Regions from separate parts of the Homo sapiens genome. Here regions 2, 3, 4, 5 and 6 are each linked to region 1. Evidence: promoter capture Hi-C in 16 types of primary human blood cells and fetal thymus (Javierre and others, 2016). All regions are on one chromosome and are shown on one strand. The core of a region is centred on a gene start or on the middle of the fragment in contact, and the rest is flanking DNA. Distances in the headings are between cores, read along the strand shown.

Evidence for each region. The method cuts DNA at HindIII sites, captures the fragments that hold promoters and counts their contacts. A CHiCAGO score of 5 or more calls a contact.
Region 2: the fragment with the promoter of NXF1 here is called in contact with a fragment that was not itself captured in region 1 in 1 of 17 cell types (total B cells); the score reaches 5.4 in total B cells.
Region 3: the fragment with the promoter of TAF6L here is called in contact with a fragment that was not itself captured in region 1 in 6 of 17 cell types (naive B cells, monocytes, total B cells and 3 more); the score reaches 9.3 in naive B cells.
Region 4: the fragment with the promoter of HNRNPUL2-BSCL2 here is called in contact with a fragment that was not itself captured in region 1 in 2 of 17 cell types (monocytes and M0 macrophages); the score reaches 5.8 in monocytes.
Region 5: the fragment with the promoter of UQCC3 here is called in contact with a fragment that was not itself captured in region 1 in 12 of 17 cell types (endothelial precursors, activated CD4 T cells, erythroblasts and 9 more); the score reaches 8.5 in endothelial precursors.
Region 6: the fragment with the promoter of GANAB here is called in contact with a fragment that was not itself captured in region 1 in 6 of 17 cell types (endothelial precursors, total B cells, M2 macrophages and 3 more); the score reaches 8.1 in endothelial precursors.

The regions. Positions count from the first base shown.
Region 1 is chr11:62,387,263-62,392,323 of GRCh38, forward strand. ASRGL1 (asparaginase and isoaspartyl peptidase 1) reads left to right here. Exons shown (of 7, transcript NM_001083926.2): 5 at 1,871-1,989; 6 at 4,260-4,370; 7 at 4,817-5,061. The coding sequence ends at 5,022. Among named protein-coding and RNA genes, the nearest start is that of SCGB1A1, 29 kb to the right of the region's middle. The HindIII fragment of the contact is 391 bases long and covers 2,966-3,356 here.
Region 2 is chr11:62,803,049-62,808,109 of GRCh38, forward strand. NXF1 (nuclear RNA export factor 1) reads right to left here and starts at 2,392. Exons shown (of 21, transcript NM_006362.5): 1 at 2,281-2,392; 2 at 744-930; 3 at 371-524. The coding sequence starts at 2,308. STX5 (syntaxin 5) reads right to left here. Exons shown (of 11, transcript NM_003164.5): 11 at 3,812-4,580. The coding sequence ends at 4,421. RefSeq lists enhancers at 2,185-2,684, 2,651-2,840, 2,861-2,910. The HindIII fragment of the contact is 11,555 bases long and covers 1-4,804 here.
Region 3 is chr11:62,769,111-62,774,171 of GRCh38, forward strand. It overlaps TAF6L (TATA-box binding protein associated factor 6 like), which reads left to right and starts at 2,286. Exons shown (of 11, transcript NM_006473.4): 1 at 2,286-2,380. It also overlaps a transcript of TMEM223 not described here. RefSeq lists enhancers at 524-573, 2,736-2,875 and a silencer at 2,136-2,545. The HindIII fragment of the contact is 6,431 bases long and covers 1,937-5,061 here.
Region 4 is chr11:62,725,458-62,730,518 of GRCh38, forward strand. HNRNPUL2-BSCL2 (HNRNPUL2-BSCL2 readthrough (NMD candidate)) reads right to left here and starts at 1,927. Exons shown (of 24, transcript NR_037946.1): 1 at 1,162-1,927. HNRNPUL2 (heterogeneous nuclear ribonucleoprotein U like 2) reads right to left here and starts at 2,000. Exons shown (of 14, transcript NM_001079559.3): 1 at 1,162-2,000. The coding sequence starts at 1,699. It overlaps TTC9C (tetratricopeptide repeat domain 9C), which reads left to right and starts at 3,029. Exons shown (of 3, transcript NM_173810.4): 1 at 3,029-3,629. The coding sequence starts at 3,392. RefSeq lists silencers at 1,441-1,820, 1,991-2,150 and enhancers at 2,411-2,460, 2,711-2,910, 3,301-3,410. The HindIII fragment of the contact is 17,995 bases long and covers 1-5,061 here.
Region 5 is chr11:62,670,400-62,675,460 of GRCh38, forward strand. UQCC3 (ubiquinol-cytochrome c reductase complex assembly factor 3) reads left to right here and starts at 1,274. Exons shown (of 2, transcript NM_001085372.3): 1 at 1,274-1,466; 2 at 1,554-3,287. The coding sequence starts at 1,347. The coding sequence ends at 1,715. It overlaps LBHD1 (LBH domain containing 1), which reads right to left and starts at 1,868. Exons shown (of 7, transcript NM_024099.5): 1 at 1,165-1,868. RefSeq lists enhancers at 1-699, 700-1,439, 1,440-2,181, 1,548-1,707 and a silencer at 1,948-2,077. The HindIII fragment of the contact is 2,853 bases long and covers 80-2,932 here.
Region 6 is chr11:62,643,899-62,648,959 of GRCh38, forward strand. GANAB (glucosidase II alpha subunit) reads right to left here and starts at 2,715. Exons shown (of 24, transcript NM_198334.3): 1 at 2,664-2,715. The coding sequence starts at 2,701. It overlaps INTS5 (integrator complex subunit 5), which reads right to left. Exons shown (of 2, transcript NM_030628.2): 2 at 2,950-5,061. The coding sequence ends at 3,122. RefSeq lists enhancers at 914-1,721, 2,037-2,196 and a silencer at 2,807-2,886. The HindIII fragment of the contact is 15,573 bases long and covers 1-5,061 here.

The DNA of each region.
Region 1 (5,061 bases), core at 1,911-4,410:
GCGTCCTCCCATTTAACTCAGAATAAAAGCCTTTGCAATGGCCTAAAGGTAGGATGATTATATTCTTTAGTGTTTAAACTGAAACTTAATTTTGAGAGTAAAAGTGGTACTATTAATAATTAAGCCATGACAGCAGGCATACATTTGAACTGGCCTGGGTAACTAGTGTGTATGGTCACCCCACTTGTCAAGAGATATCGTGATCTGGACTTGGCTGTCCCTCTGATCATTCTCCTACCACGCTCTCCCTCATTTTATTCTCTCCAGCCACACTGGCCTCCTTCAAATTCCATGCACATGGCAGGCATGTTTGTGCATCAGGAACGCTCCTCCCCAGCAGCTGGGATGGCATGATTGCCCCTCTGTCCTGCAGAGACACTCTGTGTAAAACAGCACCTCCCCACCATCACTCTTCCCTGGTGCTTCTTTGTTTTTTTGTTTGGGTTTTTTGTTTTTTTGTTTTGTTTTTGTCACCTGACATATTATTGCCCTGTTACTACCACCCTCTACCCCAAATGCAGGCTCCATGGGAGAAAGGACTTTGTTTAGCTTTACCACTGTGTCCCAGCACTTAAAACAATGCCTCAAATATAATTCATTATAGAACCTTGCTGGTGGGTATGCTGGGGTGTTCGTGTACAATTTGTTCAACTGTGTTACAGTCACGCGTCTCATGACAGGACAAGAAATGCATCCTGAGAAATGCATAGTTGGGCAATTTCATGGCCATGCAAACATCATAGGGGTGCACTCACACAAACCCAGATAGGAGAGACTAATACACATCTAGGCTATGTGGTCCGGCCTGTTGCTGCTACGCTACACACCTGTGCAGCATGTGACTGTCCTGAATCCTCTAGGCAGTTGTCACACAATGGTAAGTACTTGTGTATCTAAACATAGAAGTACAGTAAAAATAGAGGATTATAATCTCATGGGACCACCATCCTATATGCAGTCTGTTGATCAAAACATCATAGGTGGCACATGACTGTATTCGAGAATTCATAATAAAATGTTAGGGGAAAATTAACGGATTTGATCTTTACGACAACCCCATGCACAGGGTCCATAGGCAGGCAGCATCAGCGACACCCGGGAGGTTGTCAGAAACGCAGGATCAGCCAGGCACAGTGGCTCACGCCTGTAACCCCAGCACTTTGGGAGTCCAAGGCAGGCGTATCACCTGAGCTCAGAGGTTTGAGACCAGCCTGGCCAAGATGATGATGAAACCCTGTCTCTACTAAAAATATAAAAATTACCCAGGTGTGGTGGTGCATGCCTGTAGTCCCAGCTACTTGGGAGGCTGAGGCAGGAGAATCACTTGAACCCGGGAGGCAGAGGTTGCCGTGAGCCAAGATTGTGCCACTGCACTGCAGCCTGGGCGACAAAGTGAGACTTCATCTCAAAAAAAAAAAAAAAAAAAAAGCAGGATTTTGGGTCCCAGCCTGTATCTACCAAGTCACTTTTTCCTTTCCTTTCTCCTCTTGGTGGCAGCTTCAGAGTCTCTGTGGGCCCAAGCACCCCAGGAATTCTTATACACACTAAAGTTTGAGAAGCACTCTTACTTTTATCCCCATTTTATGATGGGGACAAAGAGACACAAAATAAAACTTAGCATCACAGCTAGAAAACGGTGGTGTTGGGATTGGATGTACTCTTAAAGCTGAGGTGTGGAGGAGTGTCCAGCAATCCACCTGTAACTTACACGTAGAATGAGAAGCAGCAGGTTCTTTCTAGAATGTTGGAATTAAATGGGTGCCCCATCAACATATAACATGAAACTTTAAGTGGTTTTAAGGTACATTGTTGGTTATGGTGTTCATTCTCATTTTCAGCCTGTCACTTTTTTTCTGTTTATTTTTGGCAGAAACTTGGGAACCGTGGGTGCTGTTGCCTTGGACTGCAAAGGGAATGTAGCCTACGCAACCTCCACAGGCGGTATCGTTAATAAAATGGTCGGCCGCGTTGGGGACTCACCGTGTCTAGGTAGGACCAAGGGATGCCTCCTGCCCCTTCCCCTCTTCTCCCGCCCTCAGGCTTTCCTCACTCTCTATTCCCTGCCCCTCTCCGTTTCTTGCTGCGTTCCCTTTCTGCTTTTGGTGCAGCTCCAGGATGTCTGGGAGTGACAATGGGGTTGGAAGGGGTTGTTCGGGGTGCTGCCTTGAGAGGGTGTTTGTATCTGGCGCCACTGTTTTTACTAGATTGCATGCCTTTTTGGAACAACTTGGGGAGAGAAGTGGAGACAGGGATGCTAACGTTGCCCCCAGTCTACCCTGTCGTGATTCTGTCTTCTCTTTAGCCACAGTTTCAGGATCTGCAGACTTACTTGAGTAAGACTTACTCCCGAGACATGGGCTCTGATTAGCAATCTGAGAAATCTGAGACTGCAGTTGTTAGATCTGAGCAGCATGAAAGTGACATACTTCTACAGACACATTATAGATTGAGATGTTGTTTACATTAACGGGGAAGCACGCCATCTCATTCCCAGGAGTGGGTGAGAGGCAGGGCTGGGGGGCTGTATGTTTCACTCCGTGCAGACTTTCACACTTGTCATGCAGGAATCCTCATGAACCCCCACAGGTGACTGAAGTTTTGAGAAGCAGCTAAATTGTTCCATCTGCCCTAAAGAGCAGCTTATTCTTTTAGAGGAAAACTAGCCCTACCTTCCCTTTTTAATGTGTTGCTCTAGTCTTTAGTAATAATCTACACTCTCGACAATTCTTGATACCCTTTTTCTGTCATGAACTCAGAGACACTGGAAGCTTCCTTAAAAAGAGTAGAGGCTTGGTAACTCCTCTTCTCCTTGGTATATCACCCAAGAGATGTGAAGTAGTCTACCTTTCTTTCTCCTTGGCAAAAATCCCACCAAACTGTGCCTGGTCAGTAGTGCAGCTTGCTTCAGCTGCGTTCAGACCAGGCCACAGGGCCACTCCAGGTTAGATCCTAGAAATTAATTTTAAGCTTGAGTTACAGTGGTAAATCTTGACAAGAAAAGGCATAAGCTAAATTCTCAGAACTCTCTGTCCAGCTGTGAGCACCAGGTGTGCTCTGCCTGGCCTTCTGAGGAGCCTCCCCAAGGAGCACTGCCACTGGCCAGGCCCCTGCCTGGACAGTCATGGGGGACGGTACTAGGCTCAGCAGTGGTCACCTCAGGCAATGCACTTGTCCTGAGAAGTGCATGTGGCGGGGAGGACAGCTTCACACGCCCGATGCCTGTGCCAGGACCACCCTTGGAGACACCTGGCCTTCTGTGGTCCTAGAGTAACTGAAAAGTAAGCAAAGACTTGGCTGCTTCCAAATATTAGGGCACTTTGACACCATGGAACCCGGTCAGTTAATTCCCCAGCAGAAGCTTATAAGAAAAAGTAAAGGCGCCTCCTCCCACTGCAGCAGTTCATTGGCTGTCCAGTGTCAGCTCCCTCCAGAACCAGAGCCAGGGATTATCTGCCTTTGAGAACCTCTGGGGCCTTGTGACAATCCAATGCAGCATCTCAACTCCTGAGTCCTTGCCCCATGTCCAGCATCAATAAGTAAGGCAAATGTCAATCTTCTGTGCTTCTGTATCAACTGTGGGAGGGTAAAGGCGAATCCTTCCAAGGCTAAAGGACTCTGAGGCTGGTAGCTGTGTGTGAACAGATACAAGAATGACTCAGAGAAGGCTGTAAGGTTGCTTAATCCAAGCCCAAAATAAGGAAGAAATCTTATCAAAGTAGCTTTCACTCCAGACCCCCACTTAAGTGGATAGCCCAGAATAGTTCCCTCAGGTCCAATTATGCCCACCCTCAACAAATATAACTGCCCTCCATTAGACAGTGTGCATGGATGTTAGGTTGTGGGTATCATTTTCCCCAAATCACTGGAACATGATGGCCTTGCTAGAGATCCATATAATGCAGTCATGCTGTTTCTTCCTCCATAGTGTGTGGGGCATGAGGAGGAGACAGGGAGAGGGTGGCTTCATTGAGCAAAAAGGAATGGCTGTGCTTTGGGGCCAAGGAGATGCTGTCCTGCTGTAGCTGCTCTGTGAAAGGTCAGGCCTGCCCCTCTGAGGCTCCCTTTATCCTCCTAAATTCTGGGGCATCTACATGACGCTTTCTAGTCCACCTTTGCCTCCGCAGATCATGGCTACTAACCTGACCTTTGTCGGTACTTGAGCACCCTTCGCGATTTAACTTTCATGTAGCGTCCGACTTCTAATATGGATTTGAATTTCTTGACTGTTACTGCTCAGAACAATCACCCTTTTTGAGCAGGAGCTGGAGGTTATGCCGACAATGACATCGGAGCCGTCTCAACCACAGGGCATGGGGAAAGCATCCTGAAGGTGAACCTGGCTAGACTCACCCTGTTCCACATAGAACAAGGTACACAGACCACAGGACAAGTAAAATAATTTGTGAAGATAAGTGCATAGAAGGTATTTGATAAGTAAGCGCATGGAGAAGTGTAGGAAACCCTTTCCTGTTGGCTACAGATGTTGCTTTCAGGCCGTTAACACCTTGTTTTGACTCTCCGCCTTCCCTTAGGTCTGGAATGGTAGAGCATTGAGTACTGTTATCTTCCACATCTCAGGAGAAGGGGGCAGTAGAGAGACATTGAGCCTGGATGTGGGAGGGAAGACCCCTCTGCTCAGGCTGATGCTAGGGCGCTGTCTCAGGGCAAGGAGGTGAGGACCCTCCTTTTAAGCATTCAGGCGTTCATTTACCAAAAATCCTTGCTAGCTCACTTTGGCATTTCAAATGGCAAGTGATTTTCCCATGAGATTCCTTTCAGTAATGTGTGTTGTTTCTCAACCCTTCCTTGTTTTCAGGAAAGACGGTAGAAGAGGCTGCGGACCTATCGTTGGGTTATATGAAGTCAAGGGTTAAAGGTTTAGGTGGCCTCATCGTGGTTAGCAAAACAGGAGACTGGGTGGCAAAGTGGACCTCCACCTCCATGCCCTGGGCAGCCGCCAAGGACGGCAAGCTGCACTTCGGAATTGATCCTGACGATACTACTATCACCGACCTTCCCTAAGCCGCTGGAAGATTGTATTCCAGATGCTAGCTTAGAGGT
Region 2 (5,061 bases), core at 1,142-3,641, 420 kb after region 1:
GGTGGCTCATGCCTATAATCCCAGCACTTTGGGGGGCCAAGGCGGGCAGATCATGACGTCAGGAGTTCGAGACCAGCCTGGCCAATACAGTGAAACCCCGTCTCTACTAAAAATACAAAAATTAGCCGGGCGTGGTGGTGGGTGTCTGTAGTCCCAGCTACTCGGGAGACTGAGGCAGAATAGCTTGAACCCGGGAGGCGGAGGCTGCAGTGAGCCGAGATCACGCCACTGTACTCCAGCCTGGGTGACAGAGCAAGACTCCATTTAAAAAAAATAATAATAATAATTTTTGTGGAATAAAATTAAACATCTCCACTCTCAGCGTGGCCTCCTATCTCTACTGTACCATCTACTTTCTCAAAGTACTCACTGTAATCTTGAACCAGTTCTTTGAGGTCCCATCCTGGCTGGTGCCAGCCCCTCCTCTCTCTGGAGGAGCTCTGTCTCTCCGCACAGTAACATGAATGCGATCTCGATCATGCCAAGTATCACCCCGACGGTTAGGTCGGGTGGTATAGGGGTTGCTGTGGGTAAGCAGAGAATAAAATGACCACAAATGCTAGGAAAGTCTTCTCAAAGGCCTTCCTGCACTGTTAGTGGGACTACAACTAAGACTGTTTAATCACTAAGCTAGTCCTGGCATTTCTCACTCTAACAGGTGGGAAAGGAAATGACATGGACAGTAAAAGGGCCATATAATCTCATGAGCCACTAAATTCAAACCAGACCAACTGGTCACTCACTATCGTACTCGGGGACCATCCTGGGCATCACTCATTGCCACATCTCCATCATCTTCCTCAAGGCGGGAAGACCGAATACCAGAACCGCCTCTTCCAGACCTACGGTTTCCTTCACCATATTTCCACCGGAAGGGACCCCGGCCTTTCTTCTTTCTTTGAGGGAAATTAACGCGTTCATCATCGTGTTCTAGAGTTAGAAACAGGAACACAAATTAGAAGTAAGTAACTGGTCCGGTTTGGTGTGGCAATCATAGCTTCTAGTACTCTGAACTATTGGAAGAGATACATACTAACGACAGAGGCCATCTCCATGCAAACTCCGCTCCCTATCCACAGGAAAGAACCCTCTCTGTGGGAGGGCAGCATCAGGGAAAAGTTACTGGAAAACTGTGTAGGGCTTTTGAAAAATGAAGTAGAAACTGGAATTAGAGAGAAGCAGGATGTAGAAATGTGAGACCCAAAAGTGTAACTGAACACAAATCAGACCTCTGAAAGCCACCTGAAATCTGCCACTCAGTACTTTGTCTATACAGTGCAGACGCCAGTTACAAATATGACCAGTTTAAGGATCCTCTAAAAATTCTCCTTGTTCTCAAACTGCCACTTTGAAGTTTTGTGAGGAGCTCTTCGTTTCCATGGCCAGAAATGTCCTTTAACTCAGGAGACAAATTCTAGACTCAGGCTCTAGTGGCAGTGCCAGGCTAGGGTGCTTAACCAGGGACCCTGGAATGCTCTCCAGGAAGATGACCTTCTGATTCATGCTGTGTAGGACTGGCGTCTTAAAAAAGGTCCCTAACTCCCAAAAGAGGTCTGCCTAATACCCAGCACTCTGTAAACAATGAATCTCAACAAATGACCCTAGGAAAAAAGAACATAGAAGGCGCAGCTAACATTCACTGAGAACTTTCTCCAGTGCCGGCCACTATGCTTCAGGCACTTGATAGGAATGATCTCATTTCCCCTCCCCACACACACTCTTAAGAAATGCTGTTGTTATTCCACATTAAGGGGGTGGAAAACGAGAGTTTTAAATTCACGGTTTCAACCTCCACCACGCACTCCTAACTTACTACAAAGAACTAACACCCAGTGTAGTGTTCAGACTAGAATATCCAGTTGATGTGTAAGTCTCGAATATTAAGCCAAAGCCCAGGCCCGAGAGTTCAAGACCGACTGGACGCAGTAAAAAATAGGGCATCAGGGCAGCCCACGAGCAGGGCACTCACTCACATTAAAGGAAGAGTCAGGCCGCCAAACCTAACTGACAGGCATCAACCACCCACAAAGTTCAAAGGAATCCCGTCACCCTACCCCCGAGCCATCCGCTCCGAGCCGCAGGTCCCCCAACACCAGGATGCCAGCAGGAATCCAGGAGTCAACAACTCGGGTGTCCACCTCGAGTGCCCGGCCCCCCGCGCGCCGCTCCCCGCGGACGCCGGGCCCCTAGCGGCCTCACGCCCCGGGGGCTGAGGCCTAGGCCGGCGCCGCCCACCCGCGCCCCAGATAGCCAGTTCCCGACCCGAAGACCAGCACTTACCGCTGTACGACTTCCCCTCGTCCGCCATGCCACAGCGAAGATCAAGGGCGGGCTCAGGCGCTGGCCGCTACGCCGGCAAACAACCTAACTCCCAAGCGCTCAGGACCGAAGTGTCCCTACGCCGGGCGCCACCGCATTTATACAGCAAAGCACGTCGCGCGCCGCTGACGTCCCAGGCTGTGGGCGGTGCCGCCGCCCGGAGAAAGCGCGGCCCCCTGCGCGTGCGCACACTTAAGGCCGTCGTTCGAGGGGCGGGGCCTGGCCCTCCACGCCCCGCCCAAGACCTGAACTTGCGGAACCCCGGCTGGCAGCCAGCATGTCCCCGCACCTTTTCATCTGTCCGCTGACGCTGCCCTGGCAGCTTCAGAGTTAGTGCTAGAGCACAGTGCTGCCGCCGCAGCCCAGAACTCAGTGAGGAAGGGGGCCGCACAAAGGGCTTCAGAGGAATGGAGACCGCGCCTCCAGGTGGGAGTGATGGCTCAGACCCCTACCGGAATCTAGCCAGTGTTTCAGCTCGGCTCCTTGTCTATACCTCGCTTTCTTCGCCTATAAGATGGATTAACAAATCACGAAGTTGAGAATTAGAATGTGAGCTCGAACGTTGACTAATTAAGGGCTTTTTTTCCTCGAGGGCTTGACTCGGCAGGTACTATGCCTGGCACATGGTAAAAACTCAACATATATTTGTGAAATAAATGAATTTGTGTTATGAATTTCCCCCACCCCGCCCCGCCCTGAGTTGCTGAGTCAAATGATACGACATCTGTCAGGGGTTTGGCGAGCATTGTCTTCACAGACCTTCCATCAATGGCGTCCCCTACTAGAAACCCATCGTGTCAACGGGGCAGACAGTGAAGCTCACCAGCAGTGGCAACTTGCTGGAGATGCCGAGGAGGACATTTTAAAATATCAGGGCCTTGGGCTCTCCTAGACCCCCAAAAGCACCACCACCAGCCCCTGACTGTTGTCTCTATAGCTTCAACTTCCTTTGGAATGTATGAGACAGGGGCACTCGAGTGACCTCAGAATGTGGTTGTGAGTCTCGGTCAGGAAGAACAAAGCACACTAATCTCCCTGGACGGTGGGTATTCTGGGCAGGTGTCTCCATTCTCTGTGACTGGCTTTGATTTGGTGAAGTGCTTGGAGGGAATCAAAAGCCTCAACTGGAGTTGGGAACAAATTCTTCACCTTCCACTCCTGGAAGCAGGCAGAGCTTCTGCCTCGCTTAGCTCAAGGAAGAATTACGGCCAAATAGTTGGAGGATACAGATGAAACAGGTCCAAACACTGCTTGAGATAGTCCTGGAAGTTGCCCCCAATCAGGGACCCCCTCTGGGATCCTGCTCCCCTGTGTGAAAGGAAGTTTCCACGCTAATGAAGTGTTGCAACACTTGGTTCTCCCCTGCCTAGAGGCAGCTGTGTGTCAGAGCCCAAAATAGCCTGTGTCAGCAGTGATACCTGGCAGAGCCATTAGCCCAACCCTTTCAGTTCTGGTACTGGGCAGTGGGCTCTCTCCACTCGCTGCCTAGGCCCTTCGACGCTCCCACCCAGAAATGATGACATGGCTAGTGAGGCTGACAGTCTTGCTGTAATTGGGAGAAAACGAGCTGCAGCACATTTGGCAGATTGAGTCACCAGCAGCCAATGTCAGGGGTTGTGCAGGCAGCTGAAGGGCTCAGGGCTCCCTGCCTCACATGGTGAAAGAGGAAGAAAGAGGTCAATTGGGAAAATTGGTCCCTGGGGCTGCTTCCTCTCTTCACTCACAGGAAGGTGGGTAAGGGCATCATCTCCCTTTGCTGCCAACGCTTCCTTTGGGAGAGGCTGGAGAGGGTTTATAAAAATCTCCTAGTGGAAACAACCTCCCCCACTGGCCCCCAGCTGGCCTCTGCTCCCTTCCAGTCACTTCACAGCAGAGTTCAAATCTAGAACCCTGTGTGTTTCATAGGCCTGAGGGTGGTGGGGGGAGGACAGGGTGGCCAGAGGCAAGGGGTGGGGGATCAGGGGCAGTGGTCATTCTTAGCAGTTCCAGGGAAACAGGGCCTTTCTCCCAAGTACCCTGCACAGGCTCAGTGGCAGCACTGGCCACTTGCCTTCCCAGGAGGGTCCCAAACCCCAACAGAGTGCCTCAGAGTAGAGAGGGTTCAAGCAAGGAAGACCACAAAGATGATGAAGAAGACAATGAGGATGAGGAAGATTTTGACCATGAGCCACCGGTTGGAGGTGACAGACTGGAAGTACTTGAGGATCTCTGAATGGGCGGCCTCAACGTCCAGCTGGGCTCCTAGCACGTTCTCGTCGATCCTGGGGACAAGGCCGGGAGAAGAGGAAACAAAAGGACACTGGATTAAAAAGAATGCTGTTGAAGTCCATTTATTGACATGGAAAGATGGTCACAATATGATCCCATTCTTATATATATTTGTGTATAGAAAAGGCTTTGGAAGGGTACTATAAACAAGTTATTTCTGGTTTGAAAACCAACTCTGCCATTTATTAGCTTAAGACTCTAAGTTAGTCTAACTTCAAGCTTCATTTTCCTCACCGGCAAAATGAGGATAACCCAAACCCTACCTTCTCTCAGGCTACTGTCTGTCTTCAATGAGTTAGTATAAAGTCCCTAACCCACAAGAGCCCCGAAAATGTTAGTTACAATTTTTCCTCATCAGTATTTACATTTTTATCTGGTGAGTATGTATTATATTTATTGTAAGGGGAAAAATGTTCACAGACCATTGCAGTCAGGAAATCATGGTTCTGAGTGAAAAAGGAAAACATAATGACA
Region 3 (5,061 bases), core at 1,036-3,535, 380 kb after region 1:
TCCAGAGGCTAAGGCAGGAGAATCACTTGAAACTGGGAGGGCAGAGGTTGCAGTGAGCTATCACGCCACTGCACTCCAACCTGGGCGACAGAGCGAGACTCAGTTTCAAAAAATAAATAAAAATAAAAATAAATGAATAAAAACAGTCTGACTTTGACCAGGCACAGTGGCTCATGCCTGTAATCCCAGCACTTTGGGAGGCAGAGGCGGGTGGATCACAAGGTCAGGAGTTGGAGACCAGCCTAGCCAACATGGTGAAAACCCTGTCTCTACTAAAAACACAAAAATTAGCTGGTGGTAGTGGCAAGTGCCTGTAATCCCAGCTACTTGGGAGGTTGAGGCAGGAGAATCATTTGAACCTGGGAGGTGGAGGTTGTAGTGAGCCAAGATTGCGCCACTGCACTCCAGCCTGGGCAACAGGGTGTTACTCCGTCTCAAAAAAAGGAAAAAAGAAAAAAAGTCTGACACCAAAGCCATCATAGTTCTTGCCAGGCATTGGGTGTGTGGAGCGAGCCACCTTTCTCCCATCTGTGGCCATGGAGGTCTCACTACTGCCTTCCCTGGTTCCTGCCTCCACTCAGATTGGGAGCAAATGAGCTCCAGACAGGTTGGATACAGGTTCACTACATCTAATAGGTCCCGGGCAGTCCCGGTCTCCCTCCCATCTTCTAGTGTCTCCAAGGTTGCTGATGGCTGTCCAGAACAGTAAACCTAAGCAAGGAGGTCAGCCAGCTGCCCAGGTCTGGCTAAGCTGACTTCAGGCTCAGTCAGACCTTAGAGGAGAGCGCCCTCTCTCTTTCCCTTAACGCACAGGTGGGCAGACACTTGAAACCACTTCTAATATGGTTCTGAATATGAGTGGAAGAGACTCAGCAGGGTCACATTCTCCTTAGGTGGGGTTGCCATGGCAACCACAGTCGCATCCATCTGGCTTTGCCAGCTCGGGTCCCAGGGGATTTTCTTTTCCAGCGGCAGCAGCATCTAACCCTGAGAGGGGGAAAGAGAAAAAATGTGTACATTCATGCTCCCTTGCAGAATGTTCCCACAGTTCACTCAGTGCAAACTACCCCATCTTGGGTGAACTTAAAGGAATTCACTGTATGCCTTGTGACATGTGAGGGAAAGAAAGTTTCTCTCTTTTTTTTTTGAGACGGAGATTCACTCTTGTTGGCCAGGTTGGAGTGCAGTGGCGCGATCTCGGCTCACCACAACCTCCGCCTCCCGGGTTCAAGCAATTCTCCTGCCTCAGCCTCCCGAGTAGCTGCGATTACAGGCATGTGCCAACACACCCGGCTAATTTTGTATTTTTAGTTGAGATGGATTTTTCTCCATGTTGATCAGGCTGGTCTTGAACTCCCGACCCCAGGTGATCCCCCGCCTCGGCCTCTCAAAATGTTGGGATTACAGGCGTGAGCCACCGCGCCCGGCCGGGAAAGAAGTTTAACCTCCAACTCTGCCAGGGACTCTCACAGACATTAATTTACAACAACCCTGTGAAGTGCGCATTATTACTCCATATTAGGTAATTTGCCCAAAGGCAGTGTCAGAATTTTAACCCAGGTCGGTCTGATTCCAAATACCATCCTTTACTCACTAAGCCCACTGCTTATCAATTAAGAACTGCCCAAGTAGCTGCTATTGCAGTGGGAGTTGGAGAAAGAGAGCTGTCAGTGTGCGTGTCCAACGGTCATGCAAGGCGAGGTAGGCCAGGGCTTGTATTTGGTTCACAGGCGTGGGGAGAATGCGAAGTAGGTGCAGAAAGAGCAGAACCCTGGAGTCCGGAGCTTGCACGGGATGTTCGGCCGGGTCAGAAGTCCCTTCTGCCTGCCGAGAACACCTACCGAGAGCCCCATCTATCCCTTCAGGAAGGGGAAGTGGCATGTGATGTTGGGGAGGTAGGCCGGGCAGGAAAACTAAGCCAGACACCAAAATCTAAAGCTTTGCTGCAGTCGCGAAAATGCGGGTGCTCAGAAACTCGCGAGCAAACAAGACAAAGAAAATCAAGACGCTGTCTTTGAGACTGTTTATTTCCTCGTTACTATTGTGGTGGTAAAAAAAATAAAATATGCTTATTAAACGTGTGTTAAAACAATACACACCTACTCGCAAACGTAGCAAGAGAGGTTGCTTTAAGAAGCGGGAATCTTCAGCGTCACGTGACCGCCGGTCTCTACAGTCTGTTCACACTGGCCAATCAAGAGCCAGGAAGCCTCCTGGAGGGCCGGAAACTTTCCAAGGCGCCCGCCGACTGGCTGTATTGGGGAGGGCGGGGCCGGGGCCCCGGGAGAGGGAATGAGTGTGAGCTCGTGAGTGGGCGCCGCCGCCACCGCCCCCGCCGCCGTCGTCTCGGTAGCAGCCTTCGCCACGCCGGGGTCTTCAGGTGAGCAGGCCTTGCTCTGGTCCAAGGACTCCCCATTCCCGACGCCGACTGCTTACTCACCAGTCTTGGAGCCCGCACCGCGAGGGCCCGCCCCCTTGGCTGACCACGTGACCCAAGTTCAGTGACCCCTGACCTCCTCCCCCCGCGCACCCCCTCCCCGATCTGGGCTGGGCTAGGCCGGGTGGGAGGATGCGCGTTGCCGAGGCCCGGCCCGCGGAGGTCAGTTCCCACGCCTCCTCTCCAGCGTGACTAGTGGCTGAGGATGCGGAGGAGAGGAGGCTGAGGAGCGGGAGACTTTGGTCACAGTCTAGATTTCGTGTACGGTCATATAATAGGGAAACTCCCTCCGTGCCTTTCGCGCTGGTGGACTAAATGCTCCCATTTTACAGATAGGGAAACTGCAGCTTCACAACGATCTATTGGCGGGTCTAGGGTCACCAAGGGGTGGGTCTCCAATCCATGTCTTTGGGGTGGGATCCAGGCCTTGTTCCCCATACAGCTGGCGGCTCCTGAATGCGGTATAGAGTAAAGATTAGGAGCAAGGGGTTGAGTCCTTGCTCCCCCTCCCTACTTACTCAGTGCTTACTTCATGATCTTGGAGAAGTCATGGAACATTTAGCCTCTGAGGTTTGATTTCCTTGCCTGTGAAATAGACGAAATACATAATAATATCTTATTATTGAGAATATAGTGAAGTAATCCATATAAAGCACTTAGCTGTGTCTCAGGCATAGTACAGTGCTATTCGTGGCCGGGCGCGGTGGCTCACGCCTGTAATCCTAGCACTTTGGGAGGCCGAGGCACCTGGATTGCCTGAGCTCAGGAGTTCGAGGCCAGCCTGGGCAACACGGTGAAACCTCGTCTCTACTAAAAATACAAAAAATTAGCTGGGCATGGCGGCGTATGCCTGTAGTCCTAGCTACTCGGGAGGCTGAGGCAGGAGAATTGCTTGAACCAGGGAGGCAGAGGTTGTAGTGAGCCGAGATCACGCCACTGTACTCCAGCCTGGGTGACAGAGCGAGACTGTGTCTCCAAAAAAAAAAAAAAAGCTCGTCGGGCCAGGTGCGGTGGCTCTCACGCCTGTAATTTCAGCACTTTGGAGGCCGAGGTGGGCGGATCACCTGAGGTCAGGAGTTCCAGACCAGCTTGGCTACCATGGCGAAACTCCATCCCTACTAAAAATACAAAAATTAGCCAGGTGTGGCGGCACAGGCCTGTAATCCCAGCTACTCGGGAAGCGGAGGTTTTAGTGAGCCGAGATCAAGCCACTGCACTCCAGCCTGGGTGACAGAGTGAGACATCAGACATCATCTCCAAAAAAAAAAAAAAAGAATAGTTCTTCTTTCTTTCTTTTAGAAGATCTTTTTTTTTTGTTTGTTTTTGTTTTTTGTTTTGTGTTTTTTTTGAGACTGAGTTTAGCTCTGTCATCCAGGCTGGAGTGCAGTGGTGCAATCTCGGCTCACTGCAGCCTCTGCCTCCTGGGTTCAAGTGATTCTCCTGCCTCAGCCTCCTGGGTAATTTTTTGTATTTTTAGTAGAGACAGGGTTTCACCGTGTTAGCCAGGATGGTCTTCATCTCCTGACCTCGTGATCCACCAGCTTCGGCCTCCCAAAGTGCTGGGATTACAGGCGTGAGCCACCATGCCTGGCCTATAATTACAAATTTTTTTTTTTTTGAGATGGAGTCTTGCTCTGTCGCCCAGGCTGGAGTGCAGTGGTGCGATCTTGGCTCACTACAACCTCCACCTCCCGGGTTCAAGCAATTCTCCTGCCTCAGCCTCCGGAGTAGCTGGGACTACAGGCGCGGACCACCATGCCTAGCTAATTTTTGTATTTTTAGTAGAGACGAGGTTTCACCATATTGTCCAGGCTGGTCTAGAACTCCTGACCTTGTGATCCACCCGCCTTGGCTTCCCAAAGTGCTGGGATTACAGATGAGCCACTGCGCCCGGCCTACAATTTTTTTTTTTTTTTTGAGACGGAGTTTTCCCCTTGTTACCCAGAATGGAGTGCACTGGTGCGATCTTGACTCACTGCAACCTCTGTCTCACGGGTTCAAGCGATTCTCCTGCCTCAGCCTTGCGAGTAGCTGGGATTACAGGCATGTGCCACCACACCTGGCTAATTTTGTATTTGTAGTAGAGATGGGGGTTTTTCTATGTTGGTCAGGCTGGTCTTGAACTCCTGACCTCAGGTGATTCGCCCGCCTTGGCCTCCGAAAGTGCTGGGATTAGAGGCGTGAGCCACTGGGTCCAGCTACAAATTCTTACGACTGGTTTGGAGGCAGAATGCAAGGACATTGGAGGATCTAGGAAGACATCCCTGAGCAAGTGACATTTGAACTGAAATCTGAAGGAGTGAGTAGCAGTTCACTAGACAAAGGGATTGGGGGTGGAGGACAGGGAGGAGAGAGTTCCAAGTGGAGGAAGCAGTGTTCAAAGGTCCTAAAATAGGTGTATTTGAGGAACTGAAAGGAGGACACAGGTGGGAATACAGAACACAAGAAAGTAGGAGATAAGAGGTAAGAGGTATTGCAGAAGTAGGCAGTACATGCAGAGCCTCCAGAGCCATTGTTCAGATTTGTTCTTTATTTCTTTTTTTTTTTGAGACGGAGTCTTGCTCTGTTGCCCAGGCTGGAGTGCAGTGGCGTGATCTCGGCTCACTGCAATCTCCGCCTCCTGG
Region 4 (5,061 bases), core at 677-3,176, 340 kb after region 1:
CAAAGTGCCAGGATTACAGGCGTGAGCCACCACCCCCAGCCTATCCTTCAATTATTTTTTTATCTGCTCTTTGGGATATACATAAGTCAAAGGTTATGTAATGGGATTTTTGCTCCGGGACACAGGACAAACAATCTGCAAGTTGCATGTGATTGTTGTACAATGGGTTCCGATTATACCATGACTCTCCATAGTGGCCTAAAAATATTACTAACAAAAGAACTGAGGCCACCCACTTTATAGTAAGACTTATCCTCCCTACTCGGACACACACTGTTATGGATCAGTTCTAACCATCCAATCACTTCAAAAGAAAGGAGAAAGGTCACTAACTCCCTGGGGCGATTCTACAACACACCTCTTCCACAAGGTTACTCAACGGACCCAACAGCACCTCAGTCATTACCATTCAGGAACCGAGGGACCTGAAACGTAAAAGACTAGCACCAGGTGTTCAGCAAATCTACAAATATGCCTATCCACGGACTCAGTGGGACAATTAAAATTTAATCATAATCCAAGCAAGATAAAAACCCTAGCCAAGTAACGTTAACTAACTCTAAATGAACTAGATTAAGATTTTTCTCTTCACTGGTTAACTATTAAACTCGACACTGTTACACTAGAGGCTCTCCCTTACAGCTCAAAGAGGAGCAAGGTTGGATTTTCAGATTCTCTGTGGCTCAAGCTCTGGTAACATGCTTTTAATGGAACGGACTTTGACGGACTTCGATTTTTGCTTAACATTTTTACGGCGAAAAAGTTAGGTCAGGTAGCCCAAAGACCTGACCCTCTAACTGTGGGCCTAGTTCTCCGTGTAATCCCCAATTGCTTAGCACTTTCTCAGCTAAGAAAAATATAACAAGCACCGTGGGAGACTGTTCCACAGGTAGCTCACAAGTAGTTCGCATGCAAAATCACTCACTGCCATCCACTATCACCAAGGAACCAAGTTAGGCAGGAACCTTCCTCCTGCAAAGAGTAGGGCCACGAGAGGCGGCCTAACCCCTCAGAAAGGTGGGTAGAGAATGAAAGGAGTTCCATCAAATGGCACTTTGAGGCAAGCGAGAACAAGGACTCGGACCCTGCGGTGCAGGGCGGGGTGCTAGATCAGGGGCGCAGCCGGCAGGTTGGAGCCGGGCTCGGCTGCCAGCTCCTCACCCTGTTCCTCGGCGGCCTTGTCACCCGGCACCTCGGATCCCGGCGTCTCGTCCCCGCTCCGCTCCTCGGGTTCGTCTTCCTCCCTCTTGCCGAGGCCCTGCTCTTCGCCACCATTTACCCCGCCTGACCCGGCCGTGGCCTCCGCCGGCTTCTCGGAAGCATCTGGCTCGGCCGCGGCCTCCATGGCTGCCGCCTCCGGGGGCTCCGGCGGCGGCTGCGCGGCCTGACCCAAGGCTTGAGCAGGGGGTGGCTCCTCGTCCTCGTCCTCAAGCAGCGCCTCCTCGTCCTCCTCCTCCTCCTCTTCGTCCTCCTCCTCGTCCCCGCCCGGGCCGCCGCCCGACGCGGCCACAGGCCGAGGCTCCGCCTTGCAGGCCCCGCCGGGCCCGGCCCCGCCGCCGCCGGCCTCGTCCTCGAGCATCTCGGCGTCCAGCGCCTCCTGCAGCCGCTGCGCCAGATCCACCTTGAGGCCGCGCGAGTCCAGGCCCCGCCGCTGCAGCTCCGACCGCAGCTCGGTCACTTTCAGCCGCTTCACCTCCATCGCCGCCGCCGCCTCCTCCGCCTCCCGCCGCCTCCTCCCCTGCGAACCGTCGACCGAGTCCGACCGCGCAGGCGCCGCCGCCGCCGCCCGCCTCCGCCTCACGCGCCAGCACTGAGCCCGCGCGAGCGAGCGCACGCACGCAGGAGCGGAGGCCGCGCACGGTCCCGCTGCGCAGTGTTTGCTTCTCCTTCGTCTCCCCTCCCCCTTTCGGCTCACGGAGCCCAAAACAACGCAGCAGGGAGCTGTTTCCCCTCCAGGCCCTTGGTTCCCCAGCCGCGGGCAGGCGCGCGCGGAGGACGACGGAGTTCCTCCCGCTTCCTCCCGCCCTCTGGCGCCCCCGGGCCAATCGCCGCCGGTGCTTTTATCGCGCAGCCGCAGTGGAGTCCAAGACGGGCAAGGCTGGCTGCAGCTCAAGTGCCTCGTAGCACGGAAGCGTGTGCGCGCCGGTCTTTCAGTACTTCCAGCCGGGGAGTTCTGCGCAGCCGCCCGGAGCTCCCCGATGCCATGCCCCTCCCACCACCCTTACTTCCGTCTGACTTCCATTTGCTGTGGCGTTTTAGGGGTCGCTAGCCTCTTTTCCCTACTGTCTGTGCTTGCAGCAGTAACGACAAAAAAAAAGTCATTAGAGAATGTGTTGCAACATGTAAGCCTAGTAGCAATTGTTTTTCTGGCTAGGAAGCAAAAGGGCTCCCCAGAACGAAGAAATACTGTAATCCGGGCCCTCCTTTTTCCTCAACGCCTCAACTTCTACCCAGCAACAGAGGCCCTTGAACCCGCCCTTTTTCTCTTATTGGACAACTTGAATCGTCATTTGCCGTTCCGATTGGTCATCCGTGATCGTCCGGATTTTTCCAATTGGCGAAGCTGCCAGGGGAATTTTTTTTTTTTTTTTTTCCCAGGTTGGTCCGCTGAGGAGGCGGGGTCGTTTCTGCGGGATTATTTTTCCGGAGCCTCTTCTGATTGGGTGGTGTGGCGCAATGCGCGCGACCCTCAAGATACCAAACTGTACGCATCTCTGACCCTTTCCTCTCCTTGCTCCTGCTGGTAAACCGAAGCCCAGGAGACTTCCAGGTTTGGGCATCTGCAGAGGGCGAGGAACTGGTCACGGCGCCGGGTGGGCTTGCAGCTGTGACGCTTATGTGGACACCTCAGTGTCGCTGGTGGTTCACCTCGGCTTCCCAGTTTATTTATTGACGTCAACAAATAAATGTTGAATAAGGAAGAAGAGTTAGAATTGCTTGAAGCCCTCTGGAGTTTTAGCACTAGTCCCGCCCACTCCCTTCTACTTCCAGGTCGGGGGGGGGCGGGTCCAATAGAAAGGCGGAAGCCAGTGTCCCAGGCGTTCTCACGCCCGCAACAATTCCTGAGTAGGGCCTTGCTTGAGTTCTTCGGAAAGTCTCATCCACCCCCACATCGCCTCTTTAGGAAGTCACTTAATGTTGGGCTTCATTATTCCCACATCCCTTTCCTTACTACTTGCCTGCACTTCTTGAGAAAAAGACTGCAGAAAGGAGAGGTGGGGCTTTCAGTAGAAACAAGCAAACCGCAGGTCCCTGTGGGGGGACTCTCCAGGAAGAAGGGTAATTTCCTGCCTCCTTAAATTGGCTGCTACTGTCAGTTATTTTGCTCCCAACCCCAGAGCTTCACTTGCTCCTTCACTTCCCAGTTCCGCAAGAACCGTGGGCGACAGTTATGGAGAAGCGTCTGCAGGAGGCTCAGCTGTACAAGGAGGAAGGGAACCAGCGCTACCGGGAAGGGAAGTACCGAGATGCTGTGAGTAGGTACCATCGAGCTCTGCTTCAGCTGCGGGGTCTGGATCCGAGTCTGCCCTCTCCGTTACCTAATCTCGGACCTCAGGGCCCGGCCCTCACGCCTGAACAAGAAAACATATTGCATACCACCCAGACAGACTGCTATAACAATCTAGCTGGTAAGAACGGGGCTAAAGGGTGGCTAGAGAGCATTAAGACAGGAACATGAACATCTGTGAACATTGGGGGAAAAAACGCTGACTTTTTTTTTTTTTTACTGTCATCCATTTATTCTGCCATGAATTGGAATAACCTGTCAATCTGTGCGGCTGTAATTAAGTTGCCATAGAGCAGGGCTTCTCAGACTTCACCTGGAGAGTCTGTTAAAACACAACCTCCTCGGCCCCATCCCCAGAGATTCGGATGGGTCTGACGTGGGGCCTATCAGTTTGCATTTCTTTATTTTTTTATTTTATTTTATTTTATTTTATTTTATTTTATTTTTTTTTGAGATGGAGTCTCGCTCTGTCTCCCAGGCTGGAGTGCACTGGCGCGGTCTGGGCTCACTGCAGCCTCCCCGTCCCGGGTTCAAGCAATTCTCCTGTCTTAGCCTGCCCAGTAGCCGGGATTACAGGCGCCCGCCAGCCACCACGCCCAGCTAATTTTTTTTTTTTTTTTTTTTTTTGAGACGGAGTTTCGCTCTTGTTGCCCAGGTTGGAGTGCAGTGGCGTGATTTCGGCTCACCGCAACCTCTGCCTCCCGAGTTCAAGCGATTCTCCTGCCTCAGCTTCCTGAGTAGCTGGGATTACAGGCATGCGCCACCATGCCCAGCTAATTTTTGTATTTTTAGTAGAGACGGGGTTTCATAATATTGGTCAGGCTGGTCTTGAACTACTGACCTCAGGTAATCCACGCGCCTCTACCTTCCAAGGTGCTGGGATTACATGCGTGAGCCACCGCACCCAGCCCCAGTTTGCATTTCTAACAGCCTTCTGGGTATTGTTGATAGCTTTAGGTAATTTTGCATGCTATAGGGAAAAACTATACTTAAGGTCAGGCCATTGTTTATTTAAGGGACATTTAATATTTGTGAAACACGTTCATTTCTTTAGCTGCTAGTTTAGATCCCTTATATTCAGTGGGTCGTATAGCTTTTCCTCATTTTTCTTTTCCTTTTTCTTTTTTTGAGAAGAGCTTCGCTCTTGTTGCCCAAGCTGGGGTGCAATGGCACGATCTCGGCTCACTGCAACCTCCTCCTCCCGGGTTCAGGCGATTCTCCTGCCTGAGCCTCTGGAATAGCTGGGATACAGGCGCGTGCCACCACGCCTGGCTAATTTTTTGTATTTTTAGTAGAAACGGGGTTTCACCATGTTAGCCAGGCTAGTCTGGATTCCTGACCTCAGGTGATTCGCCCGCCTCGGCCTCGCAAAGTGCTGGGATTACAGGCATGAGCCACTGCACCCGGCCCAGTAATTTTTATTTATTGAGTGCCTATAACATGTTGGGCAGTCATTTACAGATATCTGCCATCTTCACAAAACTGCAAGGATTATCACCATTTTACAGATAAGGAAATCAGATCCTGTCACTGCCTGAAACACCCCATTGGCA
Region 5 (5,061 bases), core at 24-2,523, 280 kb after region 1:
TTGGCAGGAGCTGTTTTAATTGCTTTACATATAACTAATTTAATTATCCTAAAACTGTGAGACAAGTACTGTTGTTATAAGCTTCATTTTCTGATGCAGAAACCGGGGCACAAGAACTTGCCTATAATCAGTCACACAGCTAAGAGGTGTTTTCTTCTGTAAAGCAGAATTCAGTATGTTACACGAATCCAGCCTTTTAGTGGTTGAAAACAAAGCAAAACAGCCGGGCGCGGTGGCTCACACCTGTAATCCCAGCACTTTGGGAGGCCGAGGTGGGCGGATTGGGCGGATCACGAGGTCAGGAGTTCGAGACCAGCCTGACCTACATAGTGAAACTCTTTCTCTACTAAAAATACAAAAAATTAGCCGGCCGTGGTGGCGGGCGCCTGTAGTCCCAGCTACTCGGGAGGCTGAGGCAGGAGAATGGCGTGAACCCGGGAGGCAGAGCTTGCAGTGAGCCGAGATCACGCCACTGCACTCCAGCTGGGCAACAGAGTGAGACTCTGTCTCAAAAAGCAAAAAAGAAAACGAAGCAAAACAAAAAGCAATACCAGCCGGGCGTGGTGGTGCACGCCTGTAATCCCAGCTATCCGGGAGGTTGAGGCAGGAGGATCGCTTGGGCCCTGGAAGTCGAGGCTTCAGTGAGCCATGATCGCGCCACTGCACTCCAGCCCTGGGCGACAGAGCGAGACCTTGTCTCCAAAAACAAACAAAACCACGCCCACACACTAACAACAACAACAAAACCAAAAAAAAACCCAAACAATACCAAGTGTGTACCATGACGAGAAAAGGAATAGGTTGTTTGTAAAATAAATGTTAAAGATAAGTAACTATTACCCATTTCTCCAACCAGTATACTTGACTTTGAGTGTTTGTTCCAGAGTTGAGGGGATGGAGAGGGATGTGTATGTGTGTAGATGCCCTCCATGCGCTGTGTTGAAAACGCGCGGGTGACTGCAGGAAACCACAGAGCACAGCTCGGGCCTCTACTGATCGGGAAACGTCGGAAGACAGAAAAATGGGCAATCATAAAACCCACGGCAACCATGAAGACACGCACTCTCCCCCTAGCAATCCCACCCCGGAATTGAGGACACAGGGTCCCCGCGCTCAGCCCTTGGTGCCAGCACTTCTTGGACACCTCAACCCCCTCAGCTAAACCTGAGATCCAAGCGCTCCGGATTCCAAACGTTTCCTCGAGCAGGTCCTCTCTAGCCGGCCGCTTATCTATGGTTTCTGCTATAGGGCGCTCTAGCCTGCGCCAAGGGGTAGTGAGACCGCGCGGCAACAGCTTGCGGCTGCGGGGAGCTCCCGTGGGCGCTCCGCTGGCTGTGCAGGCGGCCATGGATTCCTTGCGGAAAATGCTGATCTCAGTCGCAATGCTGGGCGCAGGGGCTGGCGTGGGCTACGCGCTCCTCGTTATCGTGACCCCGGGAGAGCGGCGGAAGCAGGAAATGCTAAAGGTAGAAGCAACTGGTAGTCCCGAGGAAGGGTGGGCGGGTGGAGAGCCCCGGACTGGAGCTCCTGCGAACTCCCCTTCCTGCCCTCAGGAGATGCCACTGCAGGACCCAAGGAGCAGGGAGGAGGCGGCCAGGACCCAGCAGCTATTGCTGGCCACTCTGCAGGAGGCAGCGACCACGCAGGAGAACGTGGCCTGGAGGAAGAACTGGATGGTTGGCGGCGAAGGCGGCGCCGGCGGGAGGTCACCGTGAGACCGGACTTGCCTCCGTGGGCGCCGGACCTTGGCTTGGGCGCAGGAATCCGAGGCAGCCTTTCTCCTTCGTGGGCCCAGCGGAGAGTCCGGACCGAGATACCATGCCAGGACTCTCCGGGGTCCTGTGAGCTGCCGTCGGGTGAGCACGTTTCCCCCAAACCCTGGACTGACTGCTTTAAGGTCCGCAAGGCGGGCCAGGGCCGAGACGCGAGTCGGATGTGGTGAACTGAAAGAACCAATAAAATCATGTTCCTCCACCCAGAATGAGCCCTGCAGTCGACACCTACCAATGCTTAGAGACGCGTGGTCGGTGCTGGGGGCGCGGCCTGGAGCTGCTGCCTGTCCCACCCCACCAGAAGAGGCTGATCCCGATAGGTATCTGACCACATTTTTTTTTTTTTTTTTTTTTTGAGACGGAGTCAATGTCACCCAGGCTGGAGTGCAGTGGCACGATCTCGGCTCACTGCAACCTCCGCCCCTGGGTTCCAGCAATTCTCCTGCCTCAGCTTCCCGAGTAGCCGGGATCACAAGTGCGCGCCACCAAGCCCAGCTAACTTTTGTGTTTTTAGTTGAGACAGGGTTCACCATGTTGGCTAGACTGGTCTCGAACTCCAGACCCAGGTGATCCGCCCGCCTCGGCCTCCCAAAGGGCTGGGATTACAGGCGTGAACCACCTCGCCCTGCCGCGGCCACATTTTTTCTTTTTTTTGAGATGGAGTCTTGCTCTTGTCACCCAGGCAGGAGTGCAGTGGCGCAATCTTGGCTCACTGCAACCTCTGCCTCCTGGGTTCAAGCTGTTCTCCTTACTCAGCCTCCCATGTAGCTGGGATTACAGGCGTCCGCAACCACGCCCGGCTGATATTAGTAGTTTTAGTAGAGGCGGGTTTCACCATGTGGCCAGGCTGATCTCGAACTCCTGACCTCAGGCAGTTCACCCGTCTCAGCCTCCCAAAGTGCTGGGATTAGAGGCGTGAGCCACTGCGCCCGGCCAACCACATTTTCAAAACAGGTCATGTGGTGTCAGGTTGGAGTGTACTTCCAGGGATAACCGTGGGACATTCTTGAAATCTGAACTATCCTGGGAAGTCTTGAAGTAATGGATGCCTATAGTGGACACTCAGGACTCCTGTCCTTGGAGCGAGATTGGAGGGGCATCTAGCACTTAACATATGCCACAATGCTTTCTGTGGCCATTATTTAACCTCTGGTTAAACAAGCTTAGGAGGCTGACTTACTAGTAGTAAAAGGAGTGTGCTTTGAGTCACAGATCCTGGTTGAACTCCAGCATGTTACAAACCTCAGCCCTGTTCTATGAAAGGTCATAACTACGAGGATTATTGTAAAACATTAATTTAGAAATGTAAAGTGGTCCCCAATCTCTGGATCTGGTCAGGATTTATTGGAGCTGCCACTGAGGGGATTAAATAAGTGGGGTCAAAGCCCCACAGCCTAGTCAACCAAGTTGCTCCTCTTTTGTCTATCCTGTGGTTCCCAAGCAAGACTGCAATTGAAAAAAAGGCTGCTGTTATTAAAGTCAGAACACCAAATAAAGCTTTTTTTTTTTTTTTGAGACAGAATTTCTGTGTTGTTGCCCACGCTGGAGTGCAATGGAGCGATCTCAACTCAATGCAACCTCCGCCTCCTGGGTTCAAGCGATTCTCCTGCCTCAGCCTCTCCAGTAGCTGGGACTACAGGGGTGCGCCACTATGCCAGGATAATCTTTGTATTTTTAGTAGATACAGGGTTTCACCATGTTGGCCAGGCTGGTCTTGAACTCCTGACCTCAGGTGATCTGCCCGCCTCAACCTCCCAAAGTGCTGGGATTACAAGCATGACCCGCCGTGCCTGGCCCAAATAAAGCTTTCTAACACTGGGGTGTAAACCCAGATATAAGTATTGGTGCTCTTTTCAGCTGCTGGAACACATGTTACATGTGATCTTTACAGAGTAACTGTGGCCTTTCTCCTAGTCCAGGAAGGAGTGGAGTCAGGAGCAGTTTGACAGGACAGCAGGGTGGGGTGATCAGCAGCCAGAGGGACTATCATAGATAAGCTCATCAGTGCTTCTTGGTTGGTTTTAAAAAGCAGAGAGAAGCGCCAACATGGTGAGACCCTGTATCTACTAAAAATACAAAAATTAGCTGGGCATGGCGGCACGTGCCTGTGGTCCCAGCTACTCGGGAGGCTGAGGCAGGAGAATCGCTTGAACTCAGGAGGCAGAGGTTACGGTGAGCCGAGATCGTGCCACTGCACTCCAGCCTGGGTAACAGAGTGAGGAGATGTCTCAAAAAAAAAAAACAAAAAAACAAAACCCTTTTAGCCCAGCATTTTGGGAGGCTGAGACAGGTGGATCTTGAGGTCAGGAGTTCAAGACCAGCCTGGCCAACATGGTGAAACCCCATCTCTACTAAAAAATACAAAGAATTAGCTGGGTGTGGTGGCACACACCTGCAATCCCAGCTACTCGAGAGGCTGAGGCAGAATTGCTTGAACCCGGCAGACGTTGGTTATAATGAGCCGAGATTGCACCACTGTACTACAGCCTGGGATCTAGAGCAAGACTCCACCTCAAATAAGTAAATAAAATTATCCTTTTAGTAGCTAATGCTTACTGGGGACTTATTAGGTACCAGGCACTATGCTAAAGCATCTTATACCAGCATTATGTAACCCTCATGACAATCCCAAGAAATAGGCACTATTCCTATTCTATTAAGAAGCTAGGTTTTCTGGGTGAGATGTGAAATAACTTAAATGACATCACTAAGGTAGCAAAGCTGAAGGAAAAGTATAAGAAGGATGTTCCTGACTATAAGTAGAAAGGTTGGTTTGATGATGCAAAGGGTCCTGCTAAAGTTGCCTGGAAAAAGGTGGAAGAGGAAGATGAAGAGGAGGAGGATGAATAAAGAAACTGTTTATCTGGCCAGGCACAGTGGCTCAAGACTGTAATCCCAGCACTTTGGGAGGCAGAGGCGGGCGGATCATCTGAGGTCAGGAGTTCAAGACCAACCTGACCAACAAGGTGAAACCCTGTCTCTTAAAAAAAAAAAAAAAAAAAAATTAGCTGGGCGTGGTGGTGCATGCCTGTAACCCCACCTACTCAGGAGGCTAAGGCAGGAGAATCGCTTGAACCCGGGAGGTGGAGGTTGCAGTGAGCTGAGATCGCTCCATTGCACTCCAGCCTGGGCAACAAAAGCAAAACTCCATCTCAAAGGAAAAAAAAAAAGAAACTGTTTATCTGCCTCCTTGTGAGTACCTTAAGAGTAGGGGAGCCCCGTAATGGACACATCTCTTATTTGAGAAGTGCCTGTTGTCCTCATTAGGTTTAATTACAAAATTTGATCA
Region 6 (5,061 bases), core at 1,465-3,964, 260 kb after region 1:
GGAATTACAGGCGTGAGCCACTGCACCCACCCTGGATACCGCATTTTATTTTTAATTTTTTTTGAAACTGAGTTTCACTCTTGTTGCCCATGCTGGAGTGCAATGGCACGATCTTGGCTCACCGCAACCTCTGCCTCGCGGGTTCAAGCAATTCTCCTGCCTCTGCCTCCCAAGTAGCTGGGATTACAGGCGCGTGCCACCACACTCGGCTAATTTTGTATTTTTAGTAGAGACGGGGTTTCTCTGTGTTGGTCAGGCTGGTCTCGAACTCCCAACCTCAGGTGATTCGCCAGCCTCGGCCTCCCAAAGTGCTGGGATTACAGGTGTGAGCCATCGTGCCCGGCTGACACCACATTTTAAACATGCTCTCCCAGTGACACTGATATGGGCAGAATACGAGCATACTCTGAGAAAGTGTTTCAAACTGGGGGTGGGAGGGTTCTTCTAAGCAATAAAGTTTTACAACCAGCCAGGCACAGTGGCTCACGTCTATAATCCTAGCACTTTGGGAGGTCAAAAAGGGAAGATTGGGCAACACAGCAAGACCTCGTCTCTACTTAAAAAAAAAAAAGAGTAGCAAGGCATGGTGGCAGGTGCCTGTAGTCCCAGCTAATCAGGAGGCTGAAGCCGGAGGACTGCCTGAACGCAAGAGTTTGAGGCTGCATGAGCTACGATTGCACCACTGCTCTCCAGCCTGGGCCACAGCACAAGACTCTGTCTCAAAAAAGTAAATTAATTAAGACTGGTCAATGGGGTGTCTACTAAAAATACAAAAATTAGCTGGGCACGGTGGCACACGTCTGTAATCCCAGGACTCGGGAGGATGAGGCAGGAGAATCGCTTGAACTCGGGAGGTGGAAGCTGGAGTAAGCCGAGATTGCACCCCTGCACTCCATCCTAGGCAACAGAGCGAGACCCTGTTTCAATAAGTAAACAAACAAATAAATAAATAAATAAAATTTGACAACCTATAATAAGGTAACTAAAGACAGGGTCTATTATACACATTGTATCTAGTTATCTAGCATTAGCTTCAGCATCTGCTTGAAAGCTAAAAGAAAATTACCAGAAATGAGATCACAGAGTGTACTATGATCTCATCACAGGACTCTCCTCCAGCTCCAGAGGAATGTACGAAACAACTGTTCCACAGCAGGCCAGACAGAAAAATGAAGAAAACACTAGGCACTGTGGTTTAATAGGCCAAGCAGAATAAATGCTACCACAAAACTCCATAGCAAGGCATGCGGCACAGGTCCTGCAGTGAGTGACCTGAGTGACTGCAACAGGCACTCTTGGCCACTGACCCACGTCCACCTGCCAAAAGCAGCAGTAAATAGAAGTACAGTGAGTTGAGGCCGGGCGCGGTGGCTCACGCCTGTAATCCCAGCACTTTGGGAGGCCGAGGCGGGTGGATCACGAGGTCAAGAGATCGAGATCATCCTCACCAACATAGTGAAACCCCGTCTCTACTAAAAATACAAAAAAATAGCCAGGCGTGGTGGCGGGTGCCTGTAGTCCCAGCTACTCGGGAGGCTGAGGCAGGAGAATGGCGTGAACCCAGGAGGCGGAGCTTGCAGTGAGCCGAGATCTCGCCACTGCACTCCAGCCTGGGCAACAGAGCGAGACTCTGTCTCTCAAAAAAAAAAAAAAAAGACGTACAGTGAGTTAAATACCCTCTGGGGCCCTATTTGCACAGTCTGTAAAATTGGTTCGGAAAGATGCCAATGGAGATAGGATTCCTAAAGCATCTTTCAGATATGACCTGTTGGAGGGCCCTAAGGAATTCACGGCGGCCTTGACCACCCCAAGAGAGGTGTTCATAGGCCAAAGTCAGGAATAAGCTGCAGGGCAAGTTGCACGCATTTATTGTTTCAGATCACAGGCTCCGAGGGAACTGAGTTTATGATCCACGCTTTCTTCATCGCTTTGGAGAGTACACGCCTACCCCACCCCAGTATATCCGTTAGGTCCTAGTAAACATTTGTGGCACTGGTGATATGTTTCGAATCTTTTTTTTTCCCCAGTAATATAAACCCGAGAGCGTGGACCAAGCCATTCGATTACATGTTGTGTTTGAGCAACACCATCCACGCCGTGAGCTTACTGGACCCTGGGCCGTGCCCAGCGACCGTGGACACTGAACTAAGCCAGAGCTGGTGCTCACGTGAAGACAAGGGCAGAGGAGGATTCGGAGCTCTACAGGGTAGAGCCAGAAGGGTAGTACAGGCTTAACTGCTGGCCCGGTGCTTCCAGCTCAGCCGAGGGGCCGCGGGGCCGCAGGCTGCATTCCCCGAGGCCAGGCCGCATCTTTTCCCCCGCCCCGACGACCCCGCGCACTGCAGGAAGGGGGCGGCGACGTTGACCGCCGCAAGCAGCCAAAGGAGGGCGGCGGCTGAGAGCGGCCAAGACCAAGAAAGACGCACAGCTGTGGCTTTACTAAACCGCCGGGCGGGAGCCCGGAGCCCCACAGGCAAGGCCCCCAGCGTCGCTCGGATCTACCACGGGGAGACCGGAGGCGTCTGAGGCCGCCTCCAGAGGAACAAAGGTTCCTCACGAGGCCGGGGGTGGCAGAGTGTCAAGAGACACACAGGAAGGAGTGGAATGGGACTTGGGGGATCTGGGGGCGTCCCGGGCGCGCCCCCAGATTCCGGGCTCCTCACCGCCTCCTACGCGCCGCCACTGCCGCTACCGCCGCCATCTTGTGCAGAGTTTGCTCCTTGACCCCAAACCTCCCGCCCCATCGCGCGCGCTCAGCCACGTATCCTAGTTCCCGCCCCTTCCGGCCTTATGATTGGTTCGACCTGAGCGCCGCCGGGCAGCTGTCTCATTGGTAGAGTGCGCACTCCAAATTATCGCAGGGGGCGGGGCTTCAGGCCAGGGGCGGGAACGTCCAGAGCCAGGCGCTGTCAGACTTTGCACGCTCTCAGCATGACAGAAGCACTGGACTGGTTTTCTCAAGTTGGCAAATTTTATTTAGAAAAAAAAAAGTGGGAGAGAAAAAAGTGACAGCGCTCTTTAGACCAAGGACTTAGAAGAGAAACCTCCACCCTTCCGGAGCACGTTAGTCCCTTCCCTCTCTCACTGCTCAACCTCCCTGGGCTTCCAGAGCAAGAAAAGGCTACGTCCCCTGTCGAAGGAGAGTGGACGGTGAAGGTGCCTGGAAACGGCCAGAGAAAAGACCTAGGCGGTCGATGTTGCGGTGGAGGACACTGTGCAGCACAGCCAGATGGGGTCCACCCTCACCTCCACCCTCCCTGGAGAAGTCCCGAATGAAGCGACCCCGCTCTGATTGGAAGATGAACTTCTGAGGCAAGGGCCCATGCTCCCGGAGAAAACCCCAGACACTGAGCAGCAGCAGACGCACCTCGAAAGGTGCCAGTTGGCTAAATACTTCATGCATATTACCCAGGGCCGGAGGCAGGAGGCTTCCCTCAGCCATGACAGCCACTAAGGTGCAGGATGCCTCCAGGTGCCAGGGGGAGTGGGTCGTGTCAGGGTGGCGAGAGGCTTCCCAATGGCCCAAGAGGGCGGCCAGCAGCCCCCGAAGCAGCACGGAACAGTAGCACAGGGCTGGGGGTGCAGCTGCTACCAGCTTTAACAGCTCAAAGAGCAGGGGCTGTTCGCGGAAGCGCCGGCCAATGCGGAGATCCCGCTCCACGGTGGCCCGGGCGTGTTCCTCGGGGGGCCAGGCCAGCTCTGCACCAGCTGCATCGGGACACACACTCTCCACCAAGGTCACTGCCACTGCTTTGGCTGCCTCTGGACTCAAGATGGGTGCCCCCCAGCATTCCCCACATTCAGTGCCCCCTGGGGCACTGCAGCAGTGAACCAGGAGGCTGAGGAGGCTCTGGGTGTTATAGATCACTTCCTGCTGATTTCGTGACTGGACAAACTTGGGTGGCTTTAAGCCACGGCCGATGACTCCAGCATGGAAAACTGACCAAATCCCTCCAGGACCTGGCACAGCTGCAGTGTGCCTCCGGTTAGTGTCCAACAGGGAGGCAGAAGCCAAAGAAGCTGAAACAACTGAGAGAGTCTCATTGTCCCCATCTACTTGCCCACCAAACAGTTCTGTGTTGCCTCGATGTAAGGCTCCTTCAACCAGCAGCTGCAGGACAGCCTTGAGCCCAGCTGGGGATGTCTGAGACAGGCGGGTGAGAAGCTGACAGGCTGAGGCCACACCTGGGGGTCCATGCAGCCTCAGAGAGGCAAAGAAGCGGTGCACCCCAGCCCTTACCAGTCCCAGGAGCTGGGAGGGGGATAAGGCTTCAGAAGGAAAGGGACAAATGGCCAGGAGAGAGGCAGCAGCTTCAGCTACTTCCTCCTCAGGATGTAGCAGGAGAGGAGCCAGGTCAGACAGATGGGCTGAGGCAGATTCCCCAAAGTGCGCCCCTAGGGCTGCAGGGCCCTCGCCACCCTGCTGTTCCCACCCTACTAGCAGTGCCAAGTTGCGCAGGAACCGGGCCGTGAAGGGAGGCTGTAATGTCCCTGCATGCACCCGAGCCAGACAGCTTCGGAAAGCCAGGGGCAGGAGGCCAGAGAGGCTGACCACTAGCCCTGCATATAACTGGGTGGCCAAACTCAACTCTTCAGGGCTTCGGGCTCGGCTCAGCAGATGGCCCAAGGCCTCAGGTCCACAGCTAGGCCGGGTATAGACAGACAGCAGGCCCAAGAGCTGGTGCTGCCAGAGGAAGCGCTTCCGTTCCAATCGTAACGTCTCTCCACACAGCTCTCCAACATGGTTTTTGAGCGCATCTAAAAAGGGCACCAAGCGGGGAGGTGGGGGCGGGCCTAGCACCCCTTCCCCAGGAGACCCTCCCCGGTGATGAACCAGTTTTTGCAGGTGCAGCAGCAGCAGCTGGATTAGCCGGTCACAAGCCTCACGCACGGTGTCTGGCACAGCCAGGCCCTGGGTGGTAATGACCGAAGCAGGCATAGCTGTGTCCACCAGGAACTGCAGCAAGCGGTAGGCACCTGCCCCAGAGGCCTGGCTCACCAGGTGCACAGCCAGGTTCAACATGTTGTCCAGCTCCTCTCGGGGGAATCCTTGAAGGTGTT